2 separate regions of the Homo sapiens genome follow, and region 1 is linked to region 2. Evidence: promoter capture Hi-C in human tissues and cell types (Jung and others, 2019). All regions are on one chromosome and are shown on one strand. Each heading gives the region's core, a stretch centred on a gene start or on the middle of the fragment in contact. The rest is flanking DNA. Distances are from core to core; before and after follow the strand shown. Region 1 overlaps ANKFY1 (ankyrin repeat and FYVE domain containing 1). Region 2 holds the start of SPNS3 (SPNS lysolipid transporter 3, sphingosine-1-phosphate (putative)).

Evidence for each region. The method cuts DNA at HindIII sites, captures the fragments that hold promoters and counts their contacts. A contact is called where the count stands out against the background at its distance.
Region 1: a contact is called between a fragment that was not itself captured here and the fragment with the promoter of SPNS3 in region 2, in 1 of the 25 tissues and cell types used here (H1 embryonic stem cells).

What each region holds. Positions count from the first base shown.
Region 1 is chr17:4,159,569-4,165,639 of GRCh38, forward strand. ANKFY1 (ankyrin repeat and FYVE domain containing 1) reads right to left here. Exons shown (of 25, transcript NM_001330063.2): 25 at 4,253-6,071. Among named protein-coding and RNA genes, the nearest start is that of CYB5D2, 19 kb to the left of the region's middle. The HindIII fragment of the contact is 4,737 bases long and covers 2,324-6,071 here.
Region 2 is chr17:4,432,080-4,438,196 of GRCh38, forward strand. SPNS3 (SPNS lysolipid transporter 3, sphingosine-1-phosphate (putative)) reads left to right here and starts at 1,861. Exons shown (of 12, transcript NM_182538.5): 1 at 1,861-2,087. The coding sequence starts at 1,889. RefSeq lists an enhancer at 1,923-2,577. The HindIII fragment of the contact is 23,733 bases long and covers 1-6,117 here.

The sequences.
Region 1 (6,071 bases), core at 3,442-5,941, 270 kb before region 2:
TCCACCCCGTATTGCTTCAATATTCAGCTCAATCAGGCCCCTCTTGGGAGCCTTCATTAACTGTTGGGCCAGCAGTGAGCTATAGACGCACTTTCCCTGCTCCATGGCTGTGCTCATATCACAGTGGGCTCTTACCATGAACTTCCTATCAACCTCTTGCACTGGACCTCAGACACTCTGAGGACAGAGCCCCAGTGTGATTCAGCTCCATACCCCTATATCCACATGACTCAGCTCCGTACCCCTATATCCACGACTCAGCTCCATATCCCTATATCCACAACTCAGCTCCGTACCCCTATATTCACATGACTCAGCTCCGTACCCCTATATCCACATGACTCAGCTATGTACCCCTATATCCACATGACTGAGCTCTGTACCCCTATAATCCACGACTGTCCGTACCCCTATATCCACATGACTCAGCGCCGTACCCCTATATCCACATGACTCAGCGCCGTACCCCTATATCCACATGACTCAGCTCTGTACCCCTATAATCCACATGACTCAGCGCCGTACCCCTATATCCACGACTCAGCTCCGTACCCCTATATCCACATGACTCAGCTCCGTACCCCTATAATCCACATGACTCAGCTCCGTACCCCTATATCCACGACCCAGCTCCGTACCCCTATAATCCACATGACTCAGCTCCGTACCCCTGTATCCACATGACTCAGCGCCGTACCCCTGTATCCACGACTCGGCTCCATACCCCGATATCCACGACTCGGCTCTGTGCCCCTATATCCACAACTCAGCGCTGTACCCCTACATTCACGCAACTCAGCTCCGTACCCCTATAATCCACTTTACTCAGTGCCGTACCCCTATAATCCACATTACTCAGCGCTGTACCCCTATATCTACATGACTCAGAGCCTTACCCCATATCCATGTGACTCAGCTCCTCACCCCTATATCCACGTGACTCAGCACCATGCCCCTATAATCCACTTTACTCAGCGCTGTACCCCTATATCCACCGCACCTAGCGTGTGGGAAGTTCGTGCAGAGTTGTTTCTTTTTTTGAGACAGGGTCTTACTCTGTTGCCCAGGCTGGAGTGCAGTGGCGTGATCATAGCTCACTGCAGCCTTGACCTCCCGGGCTCAAAAAGATTCTGCCACTTCAGCCTCCCGAGTAGCTGGGATGATGGGCACGTACCAGCATGCCCGGCTAGTTTTTTATTTTTGTAGAGATGGGGTTTTACCTTGTTGCCCAGCCTGGTCTCCAACTCCTGGGCTCAAGCAATCTGCCCACCTCGGCCTCCCAAAGTGCTGGGATTACAGGCGTGAGCCACCGCACTTTTTGGAGATAAGGCAATAAAGGCACATAGAACTTAAGTCACTGAGCATGGACCTGAGCCTAGAACTCAAAGCTCTGGATGCCTGATTCGGTGCCATTTTCACTCCTCCATATTTCTGTATGTCTCTGCCCTCCCTGGGGCAGGACCAGGAGCAGACAGAAAGAAGAGCTGAAATTAGGATTTTCTTCTGAGTTCTAGGCAGTCCCTGAGCTCAGTGCTGAGACTTCTCTATTAACCAGAAACAGCCCCCAACTCCATGCTAACTGGAAACTAGTTACTGCCCATGATTTAGTCCTCCTTAGTCATTCAGCAAATAACTTACCAAGAACCTACTATGTGCCAGGCATCACGTTAGGGTTGGGTGGTCGAGGAAGCAAGGCTTCCGACCTCAGGGGGCTTATAGTATGGTGGAATAAACCCAGTAGAGCAGCCAGAGGCTGTCCTTGCGGTAGGAATGCAGGGAGAGTGTGAGGGCCAGGTCCCAAGATGTTCTGATCCTTCAAAAAACAAACAAACAAAAAGGAGCATTAGTCATTCCAGCCAGCTGCGGGCTCTGGCCGTGCCTAGAGGGTACCTGATCTCTGACTGATGCAAGAGCCCTGCGTGCAGGCTCCAGGACAGACTTGGCTGGCTTCAGCAGCCTGCTCTGTTCCTTGCTCAGTTGAGAATTCATTTCCTTTTTGATACTTACCTTATGGTACTTACCTTCCTACTTAATCTGGTAACACATCTCTCATGTCAGGGCAAAGGATTCAGCAAAGAATTAGGTTCAGCAAGAGTAGGTTGTCATTTTAATGGCCTGAAGGGCTCAGCCATGAGAAGCTGGTAATTACTGGAGAAATGCCTGGCCTTTCCCTCTCCAGTACAGGTGGCCCTGGGCAAAACCATGGGGGAGGAAGGGCAAGGCCCTGATGGAAGCCACAGATAAGCTCAGCTTAGGCTGAGCATGCAGTTAGACTTGCTGGCAGAAGGAAGGGAAGGAGAAAACATACATATTGGGCAACTATGCTGGGCCAGGCCTTGTTCTCATTTAATCTCTATGCCTGCCTTGAGAAGTTCCCATTTTATGGCCCAGAAAAGGGGCATAAATATCTCCCCACCTCTTCTAATAGTTACATCAACCGTCGGGTGACAGAGCTGGGCTTTGTGATGCGAGTCTGATCTCTGCCACACCAGTGAGCACAGTGTCAAGGCAAAGCCTTTGCAGCTGCACTCCACTCCAACATTGTGAAGGAGGCCGGGCGCTTATAATCCCAGCACTTTGGGAGCCCAAGGTGGGCGGATCTCTTGAAGCCAGGAGTTCGATGGAGGCCAGCCCGGCCAACATGGTGAAACCCCATCTCTACTAAAATACAAAAATTAGCTGGGTGTGGTGGTACGCATCTGCAGTCCTAGCTACTGGGGAGGTGGAGGCTGCAGTGAGCCGAGATCACACCACTGCACTCCAGCCTGGGCGACAGAGAGAGACTCTCCCAAAACAAACAAACAAAACCCAAAAATAAAGAAGTCATCTTGAAAGAAGTTTCAACATTTGCCTTTTCATTCTGAGATTACAGTTTTCTATAAACATCTAAGAGTGAAGAGTCTGACGTTTTTTGGTCACAGCTGAGCCACTGCGTGACCCCCGCCCCGCCCCACACTCACTTTGCTCTAGGCAAAGCTGTACTCTGAAAGCTGGCCCCAATGGGGAGGTTAGGACTGTGCCTGCTCAGAAGTCTGTGGGTGCCTCAGAGAAGGGCAACAACCCTAGGCTGGACCCTAGCCTTGAGAGTACTTCCTACTGCCAGAGCCCCCAGATTTCTTCCGGTGGCAGCAGATACTGCCAGAAGAGCCTGCGGTGCACACACCAGAATCCGGGTACTTGGATGAGAAGGACACATTACTGATCACCTTCCTCCAGGCAACCCTGTCAGTTAAGGACTACAGTCCCGCCCCCATTATGTAGATAGGGAAACAGAGGCAAAGAAGTTAGGAAACTCGCCCAGAACTCTCAGCTCATGAATAAAAAAGCAGAACTAAAACCCAGTGCTCTCCCTGGCTGGGCAAACGTGTGGAAGTTGATGTGCCTGGTTACTGTTTGTGCTTCGCTTATCATAACCAGTGACAGCGTGGTTAGCACTGTTCGCCTCAAGGGCAGCTGTGAGGATTACTTGGGATTGTCCTGTGGAAACACTTCACATGCATATTAACTAGGAGAAAAGCCACTGGAGAATGAGCTTTATGAGCTCTATCAATCACCACAGCTAGTCTGACCTAGGGGTAAGCAAAATGGAAGACAGGAAAAAGGGAATACATTTGCTCAGGACAGCGTGAGGGCCACGTGAGCTGCTTGATTGGTAGTGATTTGTACAGGGGCTTTATGGATCACTAGGTTTTAATTTGCAAGGCCTGAAACTGTCCTTAGCATTCTCTGAAACCCACAGTGCCAGTCGCCCTTCACGCCTCGGCCAGCAGAAAGCTCCTCATGAGTGGATCCTCTTGAGAACTTCAGAGGGGTCAGGTGACGGTGACTGAGACTGCCTCAGTGATCACGCTCGGTGCTATGAGCTGAAATCTGGGCCAAGGGCACAGTAAGTTCAGGCAGCTAGTATGTTTAAAATAACTACTTTTCGGGAGCTAAGCCATGAGGACGTAAAGGCATTAAGAATGATACAGTGGACTTTGGGGGCTCAGGGGAAAGGGTTGGGGTGAGGGATAAAAGGGTCCAGTGTACACTGCTTGGGTGATGGGTGCCCCAAAATCCTGGAAATCACCGCTAAAGAACCTCACGTAACCAAACACCACCTGAACCCCAAAAACCTACTGAAACTTTTAAAAATTAAAAATACATACATAAAATAGCTACTTTTACTGCTGTCAACAGCATGTTCCTGAAAAATGTTGGAATTCAAACTTTCTGGAGGGCAGCTGGTCAAGAAACTTATTCACGTCAGGAGTTTTCTAAAATTTGTTTTTAATGCTTATTGGTACTTCTGCATTAGAAGTAACTACAAATGTCTTATTAAAGTTTCCACTTTAAATGCACAATTTTACTTCATTTTATTATAAGGAATTGTTACAGAAAATGCAAATATCAGTATTTGAAAAATACATTCCATTACACAGACTCCAAAGAAACAATGCTGATAAGCGCCGTGGTCCTCTATGATACCATCACCCCACACTGAGCACCACCCCGAAGGGGCTGGAAGCCAGGTGATCCACCCAAATGTGTGCCTGCAGTTTCTGCCCAGCTACTGCCCCTCCTCTGGGATCACACAGGGATGTCGTAACAGCCAACTCCACACATCTGCCAAAAAAGAGCAAGTCATCAAGGCGAGCAGTCTCGACTCAAGACTCCCTAGCTGCAGAAAACCAATGTTGTCAGTTGTAACAGGTTAATATATTATTTATGCCACACAAAAAAGGAATAGTACAGGCAATGATCTTCCAAAGAAAGTCTTTAAGGCATCTGTAACTTCTGGGAATTTCAGGGTTTTTATCTTGCCAGTCAGCTCTCACTAAAGTACTTCCACAGAGTGAGAAGGTGGCTCCCAAGTCCCTTTGGTGAGTTGGTGCCACCTGCTTCCTCTGCCACCAGGCTGGGGTGGGGAGCTTTGGTGCTTCAGGTAGTTCTTCTGGGACTTGTCCCAAGGGAAGCAAGTGTCTGTCATGGAAACATTACCCTTCCTTGTTCCTGCTACTGTCACCTGGGAAGTTAGCGTTAGCTTGCCTTTCAGGGTGAAGCATTACATAGTTCAAAAGTGTTCTTTTTCTCCAGATAAAAGAAACCTAGATGGAGGTCAAGCTCTCCCCTTTCCCAAGACGTTCCCTCCACTCCGTGCCCGTGGAGAAGATTAGTGCAGAAACGGTTCAATATGGCAGGTGTGGGACATGAGCGGGGAGGAGTGGAGAAACCACACACACACTGAGATCCACACAGGGACCCATTCAGGGACAAGAGTGAGGACACAGAACGGGGTGGTCAGAAATGACTCGGGGCTCTGAGGTAGAGGACTAAAGGTCACGTAGACCCCACTCCTTGGAGAGAACGTGGCAGGTGAACTGAGCAATCGAATCCAGCCTCAACTAAATTGGTAATTGGGGTTGACCGTGCACAGGCCCAAAACTCCAAATGGAACACATGTTCTAACACATCGTTCAGTGAGACACCACGAAAAAGATGACTGAAAGTTCAAAAGTCCTAAGTGTAGGCACTTAAGTTTATGGGAAATTTCGGTGTTAGAGGATCATAGCAAATTAGTTTAAGCCATTCGATTTATATATAGCACATGGTCCGTACCTTTGTTTTAAAAACAACGACAACAAAAGACTGTTAGGAATACACTGGATAATAAATCTGGCGATGAGCAAAGGGCAGTTGAGAGCACATTCAGCATAACAATGTTGACTGTTGCAGCAAATTATGTTTCAGTAAAGTTTACTTTTCCTGCTCTACTCATTCAGAAGTGGCAACTTTCTGAATGAATTTAAGTTTTTGCTACTAGTACTTAAGCTACTGATGAAAACTTACAACAGCTAGGCAGGTTTGTACGCAAGTGTTGACAGCAGGGAGAGCACGGGAAGGGCTGGAAGCATGCCTAGTCCCAGCCAGGGCAGGGCATGTTGGAGTCAGCTCCCACTCAAGCAGCCTGCTGAGTGCAGCCCAGCGAGCGTCCGCGTGGTCGGGGGGCTTCCTAAGTCTGTGGAAAGAGGCTTTTCCTATATCCACATGGATGCGCCCTGAAGCCAATGGAAAACAGGACTCAATGTTCT
Region 2 (6,117 bases), core at 611-3,110:
TTCTGTCACCCAGGCTAGAGTGCAGTGGCACGATCTTGGCTCACTGCAACCTCTGCCTCCCGGGTTCACATGATTCTCCTGCCTCAGCCTCCTGAGTAGCTGGGACTACAGGTGCACACCACCACACCCAGCTACTTTTTTGTGTATTTTTAGTAGAGACAGGGTTTCACTATGTTGGCCAGACTGGTCTCGAACTCCTGACCTCGTGATCCGCCCGCCTGGGCCTCCCAAAGTGCTGGGATTACAGGCATGAGCCACCGCGCCTGGCCTATCTTGTCTCTTTGTTGCTTTTAATCCAAAACAGTCCCTCAGAATATTTTTTTTTTTTCGAGACAGAGTTTTGCTCTTGTTGCCCAGGCTGGAGTGTAATGGCGTGATCTTGGCTCACCACAACCTGTGCCTCCCGGGTTCAAGCAATTCTCCTGCCTCAGCCTCCCGAGTAGCTGAGATTACAGGCACCTGCCACCATGCCTAGTTAGTTTTGTATTTTTAGTAGAGACGGGGTTTCTCCACATTGGTCAGGCTGATCTTGAACTCCCGACCTCAGGTGATCCACCTGCCTCGGCCTCCCAAAGTGCTGGGATAACAAGCGTGAGCCACCACGCCTAGCTCCCTCAGTCTTTCTTAGTCTTTCATGACTCTGACATTTTTCAATATACAGTCCCTTTAAAGAAATAGTGTTTCTCAATTTGGGCTTGTCTGATGTTTTTTCATTTTAAAAATTAAAAAAAAAATTTTTTTTTTTGAGTTGGGGTCTTGCTTTGTCACCCAGCCTGGAGTGCAGTGGCACGAACATGGCTCACTGCAGCCTCGACTTCCCAGGCTAAGGCGATCCTTCCTACCTCAGCCTCCCAAGTAGCTGGGACTGTGGACGCACACCACTACACCCGGCTATTTTTTTTTAAAATTTTTTATTTTTTTGGTATTTTTGTAGCAATGGGGTTTCACCATGTTGCCCAGGCTGGTCACAAACTTCTGGGCTTGGATGATCCTCCTGTCTTGGCCTCCCAGTGTTAGGATTACAGGTGCGAGCCACCGCGTCTGGCTGATGTCTTCTCATGATGAGATTCCGGTTGTGCCTTCCTGGCTGGAATGCCACATAGATGATGCTGTGACCTGCGAAGACCTTCACATCTGGAGGCACACGACACCCTCCTGCCTCTCACAGGTGATTTATTTTAACCCCTTGGTCAAGATGTCTGATTCCTCTACTGTATAGTTACTCTTTTTCCTTTTGTTACTAATAAGCAATCTATCAAGAGATGCTTCGTGACCGTGCTGACACCCTCCCCCCTCACTGAAGTCTTCCCCCCAGATTTAGCCCCCACTGATGAGTTTTGCACACAGGCTGTCTTCTTGTAGGCAGCCCCCTCTGCTACCTTTGTTTTTCCGGGAAGGACCTTAGATCCTGGGTAGGTGCTCATCCTGCCTGGCAGTCGAGTGCAATGCTGCTGTCCTGGCCAATGCCCAGCCTTCCTCATTTGCCCCGGCTTCAAGGCATTGGTTCACAGTCCCGTACGGGCAGCTAGACCATCTCACAGCAAGCAGCACTCTGGGAGGCTCATCTCATTTCCTGCCCTGGAAGCTTCCCTTCCTCACTGCAGCCACTGAAGCTGCAGGCTAGATCAAGGGGACCACAGAGTTGTCCAGTCCCCAGGGTGGGGGTGCCAGGAGCCCTTGTCCTCCGTAGCAGGTCTCAGAGGCTGACGATGGGGAAATCGCACTGGTGAAGCTGCCGTGGGGTCAGGAGGAACCTGCGATAAGACGCCCAACAGTTAGGGCAGGTGCTTTGAGGTTTGGAGCCTGGGACCCCACAGGAAGTGACTTCGTGCTGAGCTAATGTTGCTTCATCCTGGCGCCAGTCTCAGGCCAAGAGCTGCAGGCTGGCATGGCTGGGGGGATGTCAGCGGAGTGCCCTGAGCCTGGGCCAGGAGGTCTGCAGGGCCAGTCCCCAGGGCCAGGCAGGCAGTGTCCCCCTCCCATCACGCCCACCTCCTGGAGCCTGCCCCCGTGGAGGGCCTACGTGGCTGCCGCCGTCCTCTGCTACATCAACCTCCTGAATTACATGAACTGGTTCATCATTGCAGGTGAGGAGGGGATGGCTACCCTGGGCAGTACCTGCTGCTGTGCCCACCAGCCAGGGGCTGCAGATCCATGGTGGCCTTCCAGCCATCACCCATCTTTCTGCTCCTGGGCCCATCTCTGGTGTTCTCACCTCTAGAGGTGGTTTTCAGCTGTGCTCGAATCGGGGAGGACCAACTGATGTTCCCAATCCAGCCTCAACTAAGAAGGGACACAGGCTGGGCATGGTGGCTCCCGCTTGTAATTCCAGCACTTTGGGAGGCTGAGGCAGGAAGATTGCTTGAGCCCAGGAGTTTGAGACCAACCTGGACAACATAGTGAGACTCTGTCTCTATTTATTTATTTTTTTTTTTGAGACAGAGTCTCGCTCTGTCGCCCAGGCTGGAGTGTAGTGGCGCAATCTCAGCTCACTGCAACCTCTGTCTCCCAGGTTCAAGTGATTCTCCTGCCTCAGCCTCCCGAGTAGCTGGGATTACAGGCGTGCACCACCACATCCGGCTAATTTTTGTATTTTGAGTAGAGGAGGAGTAGGGACGGGGTTTTACCATGCTAGTCAGGCTGGTCTCGAACTCCTGACCTCAGGTGATCCACCCGCCTCGGCCTCCCAAAGTGCTGGGATTACAGGCATGAGCCACCGTGCCCGGCCTTTTTTTTTTTTCTTGAGACAGAGTCTCAATCTGTTGCCCAGGCTGGAGTGCAGTGGCGCGATCTCGGCTCACTGCAACTTCTGCCTCCCAGGTTCAAGCGATTCCTATCTCAGCCTCCCGAGTAGCTGGGACTACAGGCGCATACCACCATGCCAGGCTAGTTTTTGTATTTTTAGTAGAGACGGGGTTTTGCCGTGTATGCCAGGCTGTCTCGAACTCCAGACCTCAGGTGATCCGCCTGCCTCGGCCTCCCAAAGTGTTGGGATTATAGGCATGAGCCCCTGCGCCCAGCCGAAACTCTGTCTCTATTTAAAAAATTAAAAATATTTTAGGGCTGGGTGCGGTGGCTCAGGCCTGTAATCCCAGCACTGTGGGAGGCCAAGGTGGGCGGATCACTTGAAGTGAGGACTTTGTGACCAGCCTGGGCAACATGGTGAAACCCCGTCTCTACTAAAACTACAAAAATTAGCCGAGCATGGTAGCGGGCACCTGTAATCTCAGCTACTGGGGAGGCTGAGGCAGAGAATTGCTTGAACCTGGGAGGTGGATGTTGCAGTGAGCCGAGATCCCACCATTGAGCCAAGATCCCACCATTGCACTCCAGTCTGGGCGACAGAGCAAGGCTCTGTCTCAAAAAAAAAAAAATAAAAAATAAAAAATAAATAAATAAATAAATATTTTTTAAAAATTAAGGGAGGGCACAGTGGGGGTGGGGCCAGAGACATAATGAGGGGTGGGTGGGTGAGGACAGCAGGCAGGACTTCCAGGCAGAGGCCCCCAGGTTCTAGGTGGAGGACAGGGTAGCCTGGGCCAGACAAGAATAGCTCCTGCTGGCTGTGTTTCTAGGACAACAGGCTGCTCGCAAACCTCACACGTCCTGCCTTCCTTCTTGCAGGCTTCAGGGCTCAACCTGCTCTGTCTTCTGTCACTCATTCACTAACTCACTCACTCATTCATTCATTCAAGACTGATCAGGGGCCAGGCGTGGTGGCTCACGCCTGTAATCCCAGCTACTCGGGAGGCTGAGGCAGGACAGTCGCTTGAACCCGGGAGGCGGAGGTTGCGGTGAGCTGAGATCGTGCCACTGCACTCCAGCCTGGGCGACAGAGCGAGACTCCGTCTCAAACAAAGACAACAACAATAACAACAGCTGATTGAGGCTCCACTTGCTCTTCTCTTCTTGTCATTCATTCATTCAAGACCGGCTGAGCACTAACTGTGGGCAGGACCCCCTGCTGGCTGCTGTGGACCCAGGGAGGAAATCGGACTTGGAGTTCCTGAACTCAGGAATGACCATCTCATGGGGCAGAGATAGAGGCTGGTTGATGGCAGTCCTGCGAGGCGGAGAGGTGCGGCCAGACAAGGGGGAGGCACAGGCCGGGCTGGGAGCTCAGGAGGGTGCCTGCAGCTGCCAGGCATCTCTGAGACCTGGGCATCGATCTGTCAGTTACCAGCTCAGCATGCCAGAGAGTGGCTATGGAATCATGAAACTCTAGGGGCTGCAGAGCCATCCCCAGACCTGGTCATCGTCTTTGAGGAGCTCAGAGGTCAGGAGCTTCTCCTCACATGAGGTCAGGAGTTCGAGACCAGCCTGGGTAACATAGAAAAACCTTGTCTCTACAAAAAATTTAAAAAATTAGCCAGGGACAGTGATGTCTTCAGCCTCTCGGGAGGCTGAAGCAGGAGGATTGCTTGAGGCTGAAGCAGGAGGATTGCTTGAGGCTGAAGCGGGAGGATTGCTTGAGGCTGCGGTGAGCCCTCTAGCCTGAGTGACAGAGCAAGATCTTATCTAAACCCCTAAAGACAAAAAGCCAAAACAAAGCAAAACAAAACACATGAAACAAAAAACCCCAAAGGGGTGTATGGGGTGAGAACAGAGCTTCTTGGGTGCCAGACTGGGAGCTTGGACTTTCTGCCTTGGGCAATGGGGAGCCATATAATTGGATTTGAGGCCCTGATGGAGGCAAAATGAGCCAGGGAGTCAGTTCAGAGGCTGCTGTAGTGGATCAGGCCAAAGCTGAGGAGGCCTGAGTTGGAGTGTGGGCCAAGGGCACGCAAAGGCGAGAAGGGGCAAGAGGTGGATGGGAGCCAGGAATCACCAGTGTGGAGCTCTCTGAACCCACGAGCCTGGGGACCCGCTATCTCTGCCGCTAGCCCTGGAGGTCCCTGGCTGGGCCCTAAGACCCTGAGTCTTGCCTGTCCAGGTCCCTTCTCCATCAGCACTTCCTCTGTATGTGCAAGAAAGGGGGCTGTGGTTACTGTGGGGATAGAGACCTGGAGAAGTGAAACCGTGCTGAGCATCTGGGAACTGGTGGGGGTAAACAGCTAAAATGTTCTTGCAGGAAACAGCTCTTATGGGGCCAGGGTGGTAGGCTACAGATGAAAGCAAGGGTGGGTGCACGCTTGGCTCTGGATCACCTCTAGAGTACCATGGGGCTGAGAGGAGCCCAGGAGGAGAGAAAACAAGGGGATGAGTCCTCATTCCTGAAAATGGAAGATGGGCACAATTTGGAGCATTTTCGTTTAGCTATTTATTTTGCTTACCTGTGTTGTCTCCTTTTTTTCTTTCCAATGACTGTCTTCTTTGTGTATTTAAAATAATAAAAGGGGGACTTTGAGAGGCCGAGGCAGGTGGATCACCTGAGATCAGGAGTTCGAGACCAGACTGGCCAAAATGGTGAAACCCCGTCTCTACTAAAAATACAAAAATTAGCCAGGCGTGATGGCGGGCACCTGTAATCCCAGCTACTTGGGAGGCCGAGGCAGGAAAATTGCCTGAACCCAGGAGGCAGAGGTTGCAGTGAGCTGAGATCGTGTCACTGCACTTCAGCCTGGATGAAATAGTGAGATTCAGTCTCAAAAATAAATAAATAAAATAAAAATAAAAAACAAAATATTAAAAGGGGAAAAAGACATAACAGTTTGTATGCCAGGTTGCAGTGGCAATTGGGGACAAATTAAATGTCTAAACAAAGATTTCTTTTTTTTTTTTTTTGGAGACGGAGTCTCACTCTGTCGCCCAGGCTGGAGTGCAGTGGCATGATCTCAGCTCACTGCAACCTCCGCCTCCCAGGTTCAAGCGATTCTCCTGCCTCAGCCTCCTGAGTAGCTGGGACTACAGGCCTGTGCCACAACATCTGGCTAATTTTTTGTATTTTTAAATAGAGATGGGATTTCACTGTGTTAGCCACGATGGTCTTGATCTCCTGACCTCAAGATCTGCCGGCCTCGGCCTCCCAAAGTGCTGGGATTACAGGCGTGAGCCACCACGTCCCTCCCTGAGCAAGGATTTTTTGCTTTGCTCCTCTGATCCCTTGATCTTCATGTGCATGGGGCAGCTCTTAGAGGTGTGCACGCAGGGCTTTCTTGGTGTGGGTGTTTCTGCGGG